Linked DNA regions of Homo sapiens: regions 1 and 2 are each linked to region 3. The links are contacts of gene promoters, found by promoter capture Hi-C in blood cells and fetal thymus (Javierre and others, 2016). All regions are on one chromosome and are shown on one strand. The core of a region is centred on a gene start or on the middle of the fragment in contact, and the rest is flanking DNA. Distances in the headings are between cores, read along the strand shown. Region 1 holds the start of MRPL19 (mitochondrial ribosomal protein L19). Region 2 holds the start of SFXN5 (sideroflexin 5). Region 3 holds the start of INO80B (INO80 complex subunit B).

The links. Contacts are between HindIII fragments. The CHiCAGO score rates a contact against its expected background, and 5 or more counts as called.
Region 1: a contact is called between the fragment with the promoter of MRPL19 here and the fragment with the promoter of INO80B in region 3, in 7 of 17 cell types (naive B cells, naive CD8 T cells, monocytes and 4 more). The highest score is 7.8, in naive B cells.
Region 2: a contact is called between the fragment with the promoter of SFXN5 here and the fragment with the promoter of INO80B in region 3, in 1 of 17 cell types (neutrophils). The highest score is 7.9, in neutrophils.

The regions. Positions count from the first base shown.
Region 1 is chr2:75,645,180-75,649,662 of GRCh38, forward strand. MRPL19 (mitochondrial ribosomal protein L19) reads left to right here and starts at 1,604. Exons shown (of 6, transcript NM_014763.4): 1 at 1,604-1,731; 2 at 1,923-2,040. The coding sequence starts at 1,629. RefSeq lists enhancers at 1,404-1,698, 1,534-1,833. The HindIII fragment of the contact is 2,636 bases long and covers 1,416-4,051 here.
Region 2 is chr2:73,069,422-73,073,810 of GRCh38, forward strand. SFXN5 (sideroflexin 5) reads right to left here and starts at 2,291. Exons shown (of 14, transcript NM_144579.3): 1 at 2,183-2,291. The coding sequence starts at 2,284. RAB11FIP5 (RAB11 family interacting protein 5) reads right to left here. Exons shown (of 6, transcript NM_001371272.1): 6 at 3,961-4,389. RefSeq lists a silencer at 1,230-2,019 and enhancers at 2,160-2,209, 2,410-2,889. The HindIII fragment of the contact is 14,604 bases long and covers 1-4,389 here.
Region 3 is chr2:74,453,108-74,457,662 of GRCh38, forward strand. INO80B (INO80 complex subunit B) reads left to right here and starts at 1,980. Exons shown (of 5, transcript NM_031288.4): 1 at 1,980-2,067; 2 at 2,299-2,491; 3 at 2,711-2,829; 4 at 2,996-3,165; 5 at 4,227-4,555. The coding sequence starts at 2,010. INO80B-WBP1 (INO80B-WBP1 readthrough (NMD candidate)) reads left to right here and starts at 1,916. Exons shown (of 8, transcript NR_037849.1): 1 at 1,916-2,067; 2 at 2,299-2,491; 3 at 2,711-2,829; 4 at 2,996-3,165; 5 at 4,227-4,555. RefSeq lists enhancers at 1,494-2,083, 4,134-4,203 and a silencer at 4,344-4,555. The HindIII fragment of the contact is 3,309 bases long and covers 1-2,460 here.

The DNA.
Region 1 (4,483 bases), core at 354-2,853, 1.2 Mb after region 3:
CCTAGATTGGAAATATGGATGGGAGGATGAGAAAGTATATGGATTCCTGAGATATTTGACGGTGTCAGGCATAGTTTTTGGAACTTCATCCAGGAGGAGACAGGGAGGAATCAAGAATGGCACTGAGATTTTTGGCTTAGGCAAGAGAGTGGATGCTGAAGCCATTCCTTGAGATAGCCAATACTGGGAAGGAAGTCTGGAGCTGAAAAAGATGAACTCAGTATGGATAGGCTGAATTTGAGGTAGCTTTGGGACATTAATGCAACTGGAATGACTATTATGTAGTTAAATTATCACATTACTCTAAGTGTTCAATCCTTATATAACCACTGCTGAAATAACAAATTCCAAATTTCTTTTTTTGTGTGTGTTTCTTTTTCTGTTTTTTTGAGACGGAGTTTCGCTCTTGTTGCAATGGCGCGATCTCGGCTCACTGCAACCTCTGTCTCCCAGGTTCAAGCGATTCTCCTGCCTTAGCCTCCCAAGTAGCTGGGATTACAGGAGCCTGCCACCACACCTGGATCATTTTTTTTATTTTTGGTAGAAACGGGGTTTCACTATGTTGGCCAGGCTAGTCTCAAACTCCTGACCTCAGGCGATCTGCCCGCCTCGGCCTCCCAAAATGCTGGGGTTAAAGGCGTGAGCCACTGCGCCCGGCTGTGTGTTTGTTTCTTAGAGATACGGTCTCACTATATTGCCCAGGCTGGTTTCCAACTCATGAGCTCAAGGGACCCTCCTGTCTCGGCCTCCCACAGTGCTGGGATTACAGGCATGCCTGGCCACGCCCAGTCATTTTCCAAATTTCTTAACAAGACTTACAATTTACCTTTTCCAGCTTTACTTCTCCCACCTATCCATACCCACAGTTGCCCAGCCCAAATTCATTTGGGTTCCTCAAAGGGTTAATGCTTTGTGTAGTCTCAAGGACTATGGGCCAGCAGTTCTGTCAGGAACTATTCTATTCTCTTTTCTGTGCATTCAGCAAAGAATTAGAAAAATTAGCTGGGCGTGATGGTGCGAGACTGTAGTCTTGGCTACTCGGGAGGCTGAGGTGAGAGGATCTCCTGACATCAGGAGTTGGAGGCTGCAGAGCCATGATCGCGCCACTGCACTCCAGCCTGGGTAACAGAGGAAGACCTTGTCTCAACAAAACAAAAGATGTTAGTGAGGGCCCAGGTAGGTGCTAGGTGCTGGGATAACATGGTGAGCAAAAAGAAGACTTTATCCCTTCCCTTGCCTCATTATAGTATAATGGCAGATTTAAATACTAATCTAATAATTACACAAGAAAGAATTGCAAATGAGATCAGAGCTGCCAATCGAAGGCACCCAGTGGGAAAGACGGCCTACAATGGGATTTTCGCATAGCGAAAGCTTGTCTGAGAAGATAGAGTGGATTCATAGGGGGAGGAAAAAGCTTTCTAGGCTGGGAGAACACCCCTGTGGAGGGGTGTAACTTGGCGCATTACGAGGAACTAGAGAAACGTGCACTTTTCCTAAGACATCAGGAAAGGAGCGAGGAGAGACTTATCCATTTTGTCCCATAGCAGCCGCCATATGGTGGCAGACAGCAACAACCTCGTCGCACTGATTACTGGGAGCTGTAGTCTTGACGTGAGCTAGCTGGCATGGCGGCCTGCATTGCAGCGGGGCACTGGGCTGCAATGGGCCTAGGCCGGAGTTTCCAAGCCGCCAGGACTCTGCTCCCCCCGCCGGCCTCTATCGCCTGCAGTAAGTGGAGCCGGACTTGCGAGCTGGGGCGCGTTAGGGGCCCAGGGTCAGGATGGGGGAGGCGAACCTGGAGATCAGAGGCAACCCCAGCGTTGGTCCCCCGTGGGACGCCGGGTTGGGGGAGATTGCGGGGCTCTGCGGGATCTCAGGGTTGGCACGAGAGTTCTGACCTCCGTCGTCCGCTCCCGCAGGGGTCCACGCGGGGCCTGTCCGGCAGCAGAGCACTGGGCCTTCCGAGCCCGGTGCGTTCCAACCGCCGCCGAAACCGGTCATCGTGGACAAGCACCGCCCCGTGGAACCGGAACGCAGGTGAGGCACTGCCCTGGCGCTAGGCCGGCAACTGGGGTCGGTGCGCGCGTGAGCGCGTTCGCGTTCGAGGTCCCGGCTCTAAGGTGGGGGCTGCACCTCCCCCTGCACGAGCAGGTGTGTAGGATTCAAGAGCCAGCGCACCACACTGTTCTTTCTTTCTCACTTCTCCCCAAGCCAGCATTGAACTTCTTTGCAGTTTTATTGAGTCAGAACTTCAAGTAGGGGTTCCCCATATTTTAAACTCTTTTCTCTGTGGTATTTGTCCTGTACCAGAGTTTTTCTCTGAGGTATATCCTGTTTATACCTGTTTACGTCCAAGAGCTCTTCTTTTCTCTCAAAAGACCCTTAACCCTGGATAGGAATCGATTGGCCAACTTAAAAAATTTGCTATGGTTTAGGTTGGAAGTTTTGGCAGACAAAGCACAGTAAAACTGGCCACTAAATTGTGTCTGAAACTTACTCATCAAAATAGTGTGAATAAAAACTTATATGAATGGTGGTAATCTTGGAGGTACATGTAAATTTAAAGGACTTAAGGTCTGAAAAGAGAGCTATGTAGCAACCTTTTTAAAAAGCCAGTTTTCAGAGGAAAAACCTGATATGATTATAGGCTTTTTGAAAGGGCTGTAGATTATTGATTGGATTACTTCTGGGATTTTTAATTTTTTTATTTTTTAAATTTTTTTTAGACAGAGTCTCTCTCAGTCTCCCAGGCTGGAGTGCAGTGGTGATTTTAGCTCACTGCAGCCTCAAATTTCTGGGCTCAAGTGATCCTCCCGCCTCAGGCTCCAGAGTAGCTGGAACTACTGGTACCACGCCTGGCTTTTTTTTTTCTTTTCTTTTTTTAACATTTAAAATATTCCACGGATTTAAATAGAAGTAAACTTGGAGTTAGAGAACTAAGAGATTCAGAAAATATTTCTTCATAAAACTTTGCTTTTGAGGGTAGAAATGGAATATCTCTTTTAAACAGTGGCATTTAATAGAATTCACTTAAATAGGAATGTAAATTATATGCTCTAGAGAACAATTTGACAGAATTTACTAAGTTTAAGTTGTGTATACCTTCTCACTCAGAAAGCACACAACTTAAACTCCTAACGTGTATGTACAAGGAGACAAGCACGAGAATGAATGTAACAGTATTTTTTGTAACAAAATTTAGAGGCAGCCTAGATATCCATCAGTAGGTGAACAGGCAAATACATTCATATGACAGAATATTGTATAGCAGTGAAAAATGAGTGAATTAGAGCTCACTTTTAAACATGGAAGATTTTCACAAATCTGTGTGTAAAAAAAACCTTTAGAATCATTAATGTAGTAGGATGCTATTTTTATGAAGTTTTAAAACTATAGGCCGGGTGCGGTGGCTCACGACTGTTATCCCAGCACTTTGGGAGGCCGAGGAGGGCAGATCACGAAGTCAGGAGTTCGAGACCAGCCTGGCCAACATGGCGAAACCCCCATTTCTACTAAAAGTACAAAAAAAAAAAAAAATTAGCCAGGTGTGGTGGCATGTGCCTATAATCCCAGTTACTCGAGAGGCTGAGGCAGAAGAATTGCTTGAACACAGGATGCCGAGGTTGCAGTGAGCCGAGATCGTGCCACTGCACTCCAGCCTGGGCGATAGAGCAAGACTCTGTCTCAGAAAAAAACAAAAACAAAATTATACGAAACAATATATGTTGCCCAGACATACATGCATATGAAAAGTAAAAAGAAATGTAAGGGGGGCCTTCTGAAACTTTGCCAAACAGTCAAACCTAACTTTACCAGTATTGGTACCAGTTGATATTATGTGTCTCCTGATGTGACAGAATAAGTTGTTCACATCATCTCCCTGTAATATTCTTACTAAAATTATTTAACCTTAGTCTAGGCATGTGGAAACAATCCAGAATCCAGAGATGAGATAGTAGGCCTTGACTGTTCAAAAAAGTTAATGTTATAAAAATACAAAGTTGGAAAAAAGTCCTAGTCTGAGAGACTAATGACCAAATATGTGTGAAGCTTGATTGTATTTTGAATTGGGCAACGAATAGATGTAAAATACCTTCCCAGGATAATGACATACATTTGAGTATGAACTCTGTATTAGACCAAGCTTGTCCAACCCACAGCCCAGGACAGCTTTAAATGTGGCCCAACACAAATCTGTAAACTTTCTTAAAACATATGAGATTTTTTTTGTGCCTTTTTTTTTTAAGCTTACCAGCTATTGTTGGTGTCTTTTATGTGTGGCTCAAGATAATTCCTCCAGTGTGTCCCAGGGAAGCCAGATGATTGGATACCTTTGTATTAGATTATGTTATCAAATTAATGCTGACTTTTATAGGTGTCAGAAGGGTATCGTGATAATATAGGAGCAAGTCCTTATTCTTAGCATAAGCCTTCTAAATTATTGAGGGATGAAATGCCTTGCTGTTCCATTTTTTTGAGA
Region 2 (4,389 bases), core at 1,041-3,540, 1.4 Mb before region 3:
CGGCTCCCAGGTTTCTGGCTGCATTGATTGGGTGGCAAGTTGGGCTGTTTGCAGAGCCAGGGAGCCATGCGGGAGGAGCAGATATGGAGGAAAGAGAAGATCCTTAACATGGATGAATCACATGCAACGTGCTTTATGCAGGCCACTATGCTGGAGGAGGGGAGCTTCAAAAGTGCATACAACAAACACTTTTACTGCCTTCAAGAGCAGTGCCAAAAAGAAGTACCGCTATGGCTGCAGGAACAGGGTAGCCTAAAATGTTTATCTATGGCTCTAGAGCAGTGCTCACAGCACAGGGCTCAGTCATATAAGCCACTAAGACGTATTTGATAAATGTCTGTTAGGTCACTGAATGTCCCTAGTGCCACATACAGATAACAGACACCAGGACAAAAAGAAAAAGAAAAAAAAAAAGGAAACACAAATCTTTTACTCGGCACATTACTATATGCCTAACCTGTCTCCATCAGGGTAAGACAGAGGCAGAGAAGGGCAAGATCAGCCCCTTCTTGCAAAAGGCCTACAGGGGGTTTGAGGAAACCAAGTCGTCACACAGCAAACATTTAGAAGACCACAGGGCAGACTGTATGGAGAGCTATGAGGATCTGACTCAGGTGGCCAAAGAGATGTGCAGGAGGAAGCCTGCGATCTGATGGGACCAGAGAAGAAGGGAGCAAGTGTTTGCCAGAGAGGCAGGCCCGACTGAGCCTTTAAGAACGAGCAGAATGGGGGTGGGAGCGGGGACAGGCAATGTAATAAGGTCACTCAAGTCCAGGCAGGGACACCCCGACACTCTCGCCCTAGATGGCCTCCTACACTGGAAGGAAGATGCCAGTCTCGCCTCGGATACCTACATGCTGAGATGGCCTACTTTTAAAAGGAATTAAAGTCCTGTTAAGAAACACTGGGGACATTTTTTTCAGACGGCTCAGGAGCCAAGTTCCCTAATTATCAGCAAAGCTCGGGGCACCCCCTTGCTGGAACCAGTCCCCTTCCACCACAACAACAAAAAAAGAAAAAAAAAGCCACCGCACCGACCTTAGCACAATTTCCTTTCTTCCTTCAAAGTTCTTTTCTGGCCGCCTCGGCTGCCGCCCACCCCTGGCAAGCCCCGGTTCACTTCAGCGGTCTCTCTGCCTGTTTCCTAATAAATTCCGTCTCATTGGTGCGGGAGGCGCGGGAGCCCGAGGGTCTGCGGCGCGGGAGCGGCCCCTCCCCGGCTCCGGTCTCCGGGCCCAACCAGGCGCCCGGGCTCCGCGTTCCACCCCCGCCTCCGCAGTCTAGGGCCGAGTCGGCGACGCCCCAGAGGAGGTCCCGGAGGGAAAGGACCCCTGTCGCCGTGCCCCGAAGAGCCTGAGCGGGTGTGCCCAGAGCCAGTCCCCGGCGGCGCGGGGGCCCGGGCGCGGGAGACCCTCCGCGGAGAACACAGCGAGGAAGAGGCTGGGGGGGGGTTCCCAGGCGGCAGCCCCTCGGAGGGACGACGGCCCCAGGGGATGACACAGCGTTTCCCCCGCACGCCCTGGCTGCGTCCCCTCAGGGCATCGGCCGGCTTGCTGCGTCAGCGAATCCTCAGCCCGAGATGGAGAGCAGGGACGGGGGACGCCGGACCGCCGCTCGCCTCGGCACTCGCCCCCTCAACCTGCTGCGCGCGCCGAGCCCGGCTTGGGGGCCAGGGCTGGGGAGTGACCGCGGGGCGCGACGCTGCCCGGCGGCACCGCCAGCAGCTCGAAAGGAACGTCAGTCCCCACCGGGGGAAAAAGTTAGAAGGCATCCCGGCCACGCCAACTTCCCATCCAGGGCCAGACTAGAACTTTGCGTCCCGGGCGGGCAGCTGCACAACCCGGAGCGACCCTGAGCAGCCGCTCGAAGCCGGGCGCTCGGGACCTTGACCGCAGCCGCCGGTGGCCAATCACAGGGCGCCGCGGGCGGGAAAGGCTAGAGGGCGCGGGCAGTCGGGGAGTGACGGCGCCAAGGGCCAATAGGAAGCCAAGATGGGAGTCCGCGCCCGCCCCGTTGACCAATGGGAAAAGGGTGACTGTGACCGAGGTTCCCCCCCTGGCGCTAGCTGCAGGCTCCGCTGGCCGCGGGTGGGAGACCCTTGGGCGGAAGGGGACTTTGGAGGGGAGTTTGCTCGTCCTCTCTTTGCCACCCGCCGGCCCGCAGACCACAGCCCGGTCCTCACCTGCTGGAAGCGGGGTTTGCCCAGTTGGAAAGGAGGTGCATCGCTCGAGGCGCTAGCGGCACTAGCCGCCGCCGCCGATGCTGTAGTCGCTGTATCCGCCATGGCCACTGACGCCCGCAATCTCCGGCCCTTTTAAAATGTCCCTCCTCGGCCCCCGCCACAGCTGCCTCTCCCGATTGGCCCTAATCAACCGCAGCGAGCGGGAGGCGCAAGGCGTTGTGGGGAGTGTAGTTTTTCGCGTCGCGGCGCTTACAACCGTAGACTGCGGAGAGTTGCGGCCGTCCGGAGAGGTCTCGGTGCCCGCTGTCCGCGTTGCAAGGTGCAAGGTCGGCAGTCCAGGAAAGGTGTTCCTGTACGACGACCACGGGCCACCCCTCGCTGCTTAGTTGCCCCCAGAAGTTAGAGTTGCTGCCGTGGGCGTCGCTCCTGGGGCCAGGCAGCGCAGAAGGGTCCCATTCAAGGGGGAACCTGGGACCAGATGGGCAAAGACTCCAGGCGGAGTAGGGTTAACCTCGGAAGGCTTTCTCCAAGGAGTTGCACTGCGGACCTTCTCGTACTTTCCTCCGTCGCCACCCTGCCCACTCGTCCTGTGCTCTCCGGCTGCCCTGACACTCAGTTCCTGGAGCATGCTGGGGCCTGCCCGCCTCCCGACCCCTGAACATTCTGTACCCGGAAGACTAAATCTTCGCCTGATGCTGGCTTTCTGGCTTTAGCCTAAACATTGCATTTCCCAGTCCATCACTCTGCTTGCACAAAATCCCACAGAGGCTCCGTGGCACCCAGCACTTCTCTTTTGCACTCACAACTACTTACTGTTCTGGACAGTCTTTCTTACTGTAAAGTTCACAGGGCAGGGGCTATGACTTTTTGATTCACTTCAGTTTTCAGAGCCAGACATAAAAGGGCTCACAGTAGAGACTCAAATAAGTGTTGGCTGTGAGTTCATCAGTGGGGGATTAAGAGCCCTGGCAGCTTTCACCTTGTCTGGCCAACCAAGGAAGATCCCTCCTGGGCCTAATTCCTGGGCAGGAGGAGAACTTGGGACTAGGGTGGGTGGGGAGGGTGTTAGGTAAGGGGGAGTATTACAGATTGTGGAGTAAGGATCAGTATGGATAATAAACACATACAGTTGTAGAATGGATTAGCTGAAGATTCCCAGCTGAATTACCTGGTCAGTGAGCCAGACTTCGGGAGCTGCCTGTTTTGCCCAAGATGACAGTAGAAATATTTGGTCTTCTAGGGAACTCCACTTTGGGTCTCATTAGTCTCGTGGTGGAGTGCAGGGTTGGCTCATGTCTGCCAGTGTTTCTGGACACTACATGAGCTGTAGCAGTCAAAGTTTTTCATCCTCTAGTAGTTGAACCACAAGAAACACTTTTCATAAAGCTAGGGGGAGATTCTAGCTAGCCACGAAGAACAATTTGTATCTTGGATTTGTATCTTATCTTAGAGATTCTATCTAGCCATGAAGAACTATTTGTATCTTGGATTTGTATCTTATCTTCCCCTGCTAGACCATGCAACTTGAGAATAGGAATCCATTTCTTACCCTCTGTATTACCAATAAATGGGCCCATCTTAGGTGCGCAATAAATGTGGGTACCCTGGGAGTCAGAAAAGACTAAGTTCAGGCTGCTGGGCAACACTGTGCTGCTGCCCCCTTATAAGGGGCAGGGACAGTGTCATCCAAGAATCCCATCACCTTGATTTAAGGTGCTTTCTCCCACAGCAGCCTCCTGTAACTGTTCATTCCAAAACAGGAACACAACAGAGCCACCTGCAGTACATGAATGTTTTATTCTTCATAAAGTGCTTAAAACATGAAGAACAAGCTCTTTATAAAGAGCCTTAACTAGGAAGACAAACAGCAAAGCAGAACCATGCCTGCTCCCTGCCCAACCCACCTGCAACTTTCCTCCAAGTGTGGCTAGGAGAAGAAACATCAACAAGGACCCTGGGCTTCGATTCAAAAACTCCTCTGAAGCCATCCATGCCCTGGGCATTAGGGAGGCCCACAAAGGTCAGGGCCAGGGCTGGGAGTGAATAAAGCCCAGAGGAATCCCCAGTAGGGGGGGTGACTCCCCCTCTCTCAGAAAAGATACTTACTTCTCTAATACCCAATGACCCCCAAAAGCATGACTGAAACCCTGGGGACCAGTGGATACTTTTCTCAGATTTGATGAGTGGAGTTTAAGGTAGGTAACGTT
Region 3 (4,555 bases), core at 730-3,229:
TCTTTTCCTCTTATCTACTTACTCTTTCTGGGTGTCTCATCTACTCCCATCACTTGGGGGCCTCCAGTATTACGCTGATGACATCCCCACTCACACTTTCATCCTTGGTTTCTCCTCTCAGCTATTCCACCTCCACCCAGGCATTCCCACAGGCACTTCAAAGTCGCCTTGGGCAAAACTAAATAATTCCCTTCTTAACTTGCTTCTCTTCCTATGTTATCTTCCTTACTGAAAATACCACCTTCCCGCTAAATACTTAGGCTAGAAACCTATGAGTCAGTTATTATTATTTGCTTACTGAAGCATCTACTATGTGCCTGTGCCTGTGCCTGCTGCCACCCTAAGTATCATGAGTTCTTGATTTCCTTTATTCCTTGAAAGAGCCCTCATAGCGGTGGATCCTACTGTATTCCATCTTATAGAGCTGGATTCTCAGGTTCAGAGAGCTTAAATAATTTTAGGCCCAAGGTTGCATAGCTAATAAATGGTGAAACTGGGATTTGATAATAGGCTTGTCTGACTCCAAAATCCCTTTTCATAATCACATACTACATGACTTAATCCTGGATTCCCCAATATAATTGCTCATTGATTCTTGATAATTTTATCACTGAAATGTAAGAGACTTTTCACTGCTGTTACCTTGCTCAGACACTCATATATATTTAGATATATGTATATAGGTGTTATTTTCTAATTATAAACGTGATATATATTGGCTGTAAGAAAATACATTACATACCTAAATAGTGAAAGTTCCTCAACCCCAACTTCTACAGTTAACCAACATTAACAGGTATACATTCCTCAATTTTTTCTATGTATTTGCTAGTATATTATGCTTTTAAAAATCAGATCACATAATCTTGAAATTTACTTTTTTTTTTTTTTCTTTTTTTTGAGACGGAGTCCCGCTCTGTCGACCAGGCTGGAGTGCAGTGGCGCGATCTCGGCTCACTGCGACCTCCACCTCCCGGGTTCAAGCGATTCTCCTGCCTCAGCCTCCCGAGTAGCTGGGACTACAGGCGCGTGCCATCACGCCGGCTAATTTTTTTTTTTTTTTTTGTATTTTTAGTAGAGACGGGGTTTCATCGTATTAGCCAGGATGGGAAATTTACTTTTCTTATTTCGTGTATCAGCACATACAAACCTACCTGTTTTTATGTCTTTTTTAAAATGAGGTAAAATATACACGTTTTATACAAAATTCAAAAGGCACAAGAGGGTATAATCATAAAAAAATAGGTCGCCATCCACCCTTGTTCTCTAGATGCTCATCAGCAAATGACTCTTACCAATTTCCTAGATAGCCTTCTGGGGCGCCTCATTTCTTTTCCAAGCTGCTTAACATCCCACTGTATGGATACACCAATTCATCAGGACACTTAGATTGTTTAAATTCTGTGTCAATCTCATTAATTACTTACAACTCAACTTTTCTTAGCAATATGGTGTTCCGCATTGTACAGCTGCACCGTAATTCATTTATTCATTTCCCTACTTATGAAAATTGAAGTTTAAATACCTAAACTGCATCTGCTCTTAGGGCACTCGTGCTGTTTAACCATTTCGGCCATTTTGTCATCAATATAGTTTATGTATTCCTCCACCCAACTGTGAGTTCCTCAAGGACAGGGGCGGTGTTCATATTCATCTTTGCATCCTCTTAGACTAGCTTCCCGCACTTGGTCTAGTGTATACATTCACCAAACTTGTGTTCAATAATTGACTCATCCGCGCTGAGTTCTGAAAGCTAGCGTGGGGAGGCGGAGCCAGGGGAAAGCCCTGCCCATTTGGGCTGTCCCGACCTCAGAGGGACCGGAACGTTCGTTGGAAGGATCCTCGTTTCTCAGGGACGATTTTGGACGCGAAGCGTGCCCCGCACAAGGATGGTTGCCATGAACCGGAAGTAACTGGTTGTTTTGCTGGCTCCAGTTTTTCCGCGGGGCGGAAAAGGCGTGTCTGCGTGTGTCCCAACCATTTCTAGTCCCCTTTCCTCGCAGGACCTCATGAGTAAGCTGTGGCGGCGTGGGAGCACCTCTGGGGCTATGGAGGCCCCTGAGCCGGGTAAGCGCGAATAGATCAAGCAATTTAGGTCGTGTTAGAAAAGAAGTCCCGTTCTTGCTCCTCGGAGAGTCCAGGGTACTTCGGCCACAGGTGGCAAGGAGAAAGGCGGTGCTGTTGTTATGGTAACAGCGAGTACTGCGGGAAGGGTGGGATCCAGTAGGGGCTTAGGTTATTCAGGGCTTCCCCTGCCACCCTCCGGCCAAACACTGTCGACAGGCTTTCCTTCCACAGGAGAAGCCCTGGAGTTGAGCCTGGCGGGTGCCCATGGCCATGGAGTGCACAAGAAAAAACACAAGAAGCACAAGAAGAAACACAAGAAGAAACACCATCAGGAAGAAGACGCCGGGCCCACGCAGCCGTCCCCTGCCAAGCCTCAGCTCAAACTCAAAATCAAGCTTGGGGGACAAGTCCTGGGGACCAAGAGGTGAGGCCAAGAGGGTCATAGTTTTATAAGGGGAACTTTAGGAGCAGAGATAGTAGTTAGAAGCCGACTGGGCTTTCTAGAAGACCGAATGGACACTGTGACTTCAGGGTCCAGATTTAGGCAGCAAGAGTCTAAGAGGGTGGGGAAAGTTGGGTGTAGCTACGGAGTAGGAGGAGGAGACGCTTGCTCATTTTAAAGAGTAGTGTTGCTTCTCTGCAGTGTTCCTACCTTCACTGTGATCCCAGAGGGGCCTCGCTCACCCTCTCCCCTTATGGTTGTGGATAATGAAGAGGAACCTATGGAAGGAGTCCCCCTTGAGCAGTACCGTGCCTGGCTGGGTGAGGATCTGGAGGTGGGGAAACTGGGTTTCTTATTATACCCGCCTAAAGAAAGAAGGTTGGTTCTGAAATGGGTTAGGATTTTCCATGTCCCAGTATTAACTCAGCCAAATTAGGGTGCCCCATCTGAACAATTCTGTTTTTCTTTCTCCAACTTCCTTCCCAGATGAAGACAGTAATCTCTCTCCCTCTCCACTTCGGGACCTATCAGGAGGGTTAGGGGGTCAGGAGGAAGAGGAGGAACAGAGGTGGCTGGATGCCCTGGAGAAGGGGGAGCTGGATGACAATGGAGACCTCAAGAAGGAGATCAATGAGCGGCTGCTTACTGCTCGACAGGTATGTTGGTTCATTGTTTATTCACTCACCAAATGTATACAGTATTGAGAACTCTCCACGACCCACGCACTTTGCGTGGCATTGGGGATATCGATAGTAGAGAAAAGACAAAGTTTCTGTTCTCCTGGAGCTAGTATTCTAGTGTGTGTGTTGGGGGGCTGGGAAGTAAATAAGTAAATAATTTCAAAAAGCTATATGGTTTATGACAAAAAGAAAAGGGTGATGAAATAGAAAGTGGCGTAAACAAACAGATAGAAATGATGGAAGAGAGACATTAGGGTAGTTAGAGAAGGCTTCTTTGAAGAGATAACATTTGCAATACCAGAAGAGCTTTTGAGCAGAGACCAGCAGGCGCACAGACCTTGAGACTGGAACATGTCTAGCAAAGGAGAAGAAAAAGTGGACAAGCCACTGAAGGGCTGTACGCAGAGAAGTGACATACTTGGTTTACATTTCAATAGATTACTTTGGCATCTTTGTAGAGAATGAATCTTCGTGGAGACAAGAGATAGAAGTATGGAGAACAACTAGGAAGCTGTTGAAGTAATCAGCTGAGAGGCAGTGGTTGCTTTAACCAAGACGAAAGTGGTGGAGATGGAGAAAATCAGATGAATTATGGCTATATTTTGGAAGTAGATACTTGTGGGGAGGGGAATGGAGAGAAAATATATCAAGGCTAAGCCTGGGATTTTGGCTTGAGCAGTTATCCACCTGATACTCTCTATTGAGATAAGATTAAAAATAACAACAGACCTCTGGGAAAGCTGGTACAGTTTTGGTGCACAGGTCAGGCAGGTAACATTACTGATGCTTCTCCCCTTGAGAGATAAGGACCTAAAGCTAAATGTCAGGAGATCTGGGAGGAGGCAGTATTTATGAAGAGGAACCTATGGAAGGTGTCCTGGAGAGGGTGCTCATTAATTAATATCCCGCCTCCGAAGGCCTGCACTGCTCAAGACCCTGCCTTCCATGTCCCTTCTTTCCCCTCCCCCGATCTGGCCGACCTCGCCTCTCCATCTTCCTCCATTTTCAGACAGCACCCCGTCTCTGTCTCTCCCTAGCGAGCTCTGCTCCAGAAGGCGCGGAGTCAACCTTCCCCTATGCTGCCGCTGCCTGTAGCTGAGGGCTGCCCACCTCCCGCCCTCACAGAGGAGATGCTGCTGAAGCGCGAGGAGCGGGCGCGGAAGCGGCGGCTCCAGGCGGCGCGGCGGGCAGAAGAGCACAAGAACCAGACTATCGAGCGCCTCACCAAGACTGCGGCGACCAGTGGGCGGGGAGGCCGGGGGGGCGCACGGGGCGAGCGGCGGGGAGGGCGGGCTGCGGCTCCGGCCCCCATGGTGCGCTACTGCAGCGGAGCACAGGGTTCCACCCTTTCCTTCCCACCTGGCGT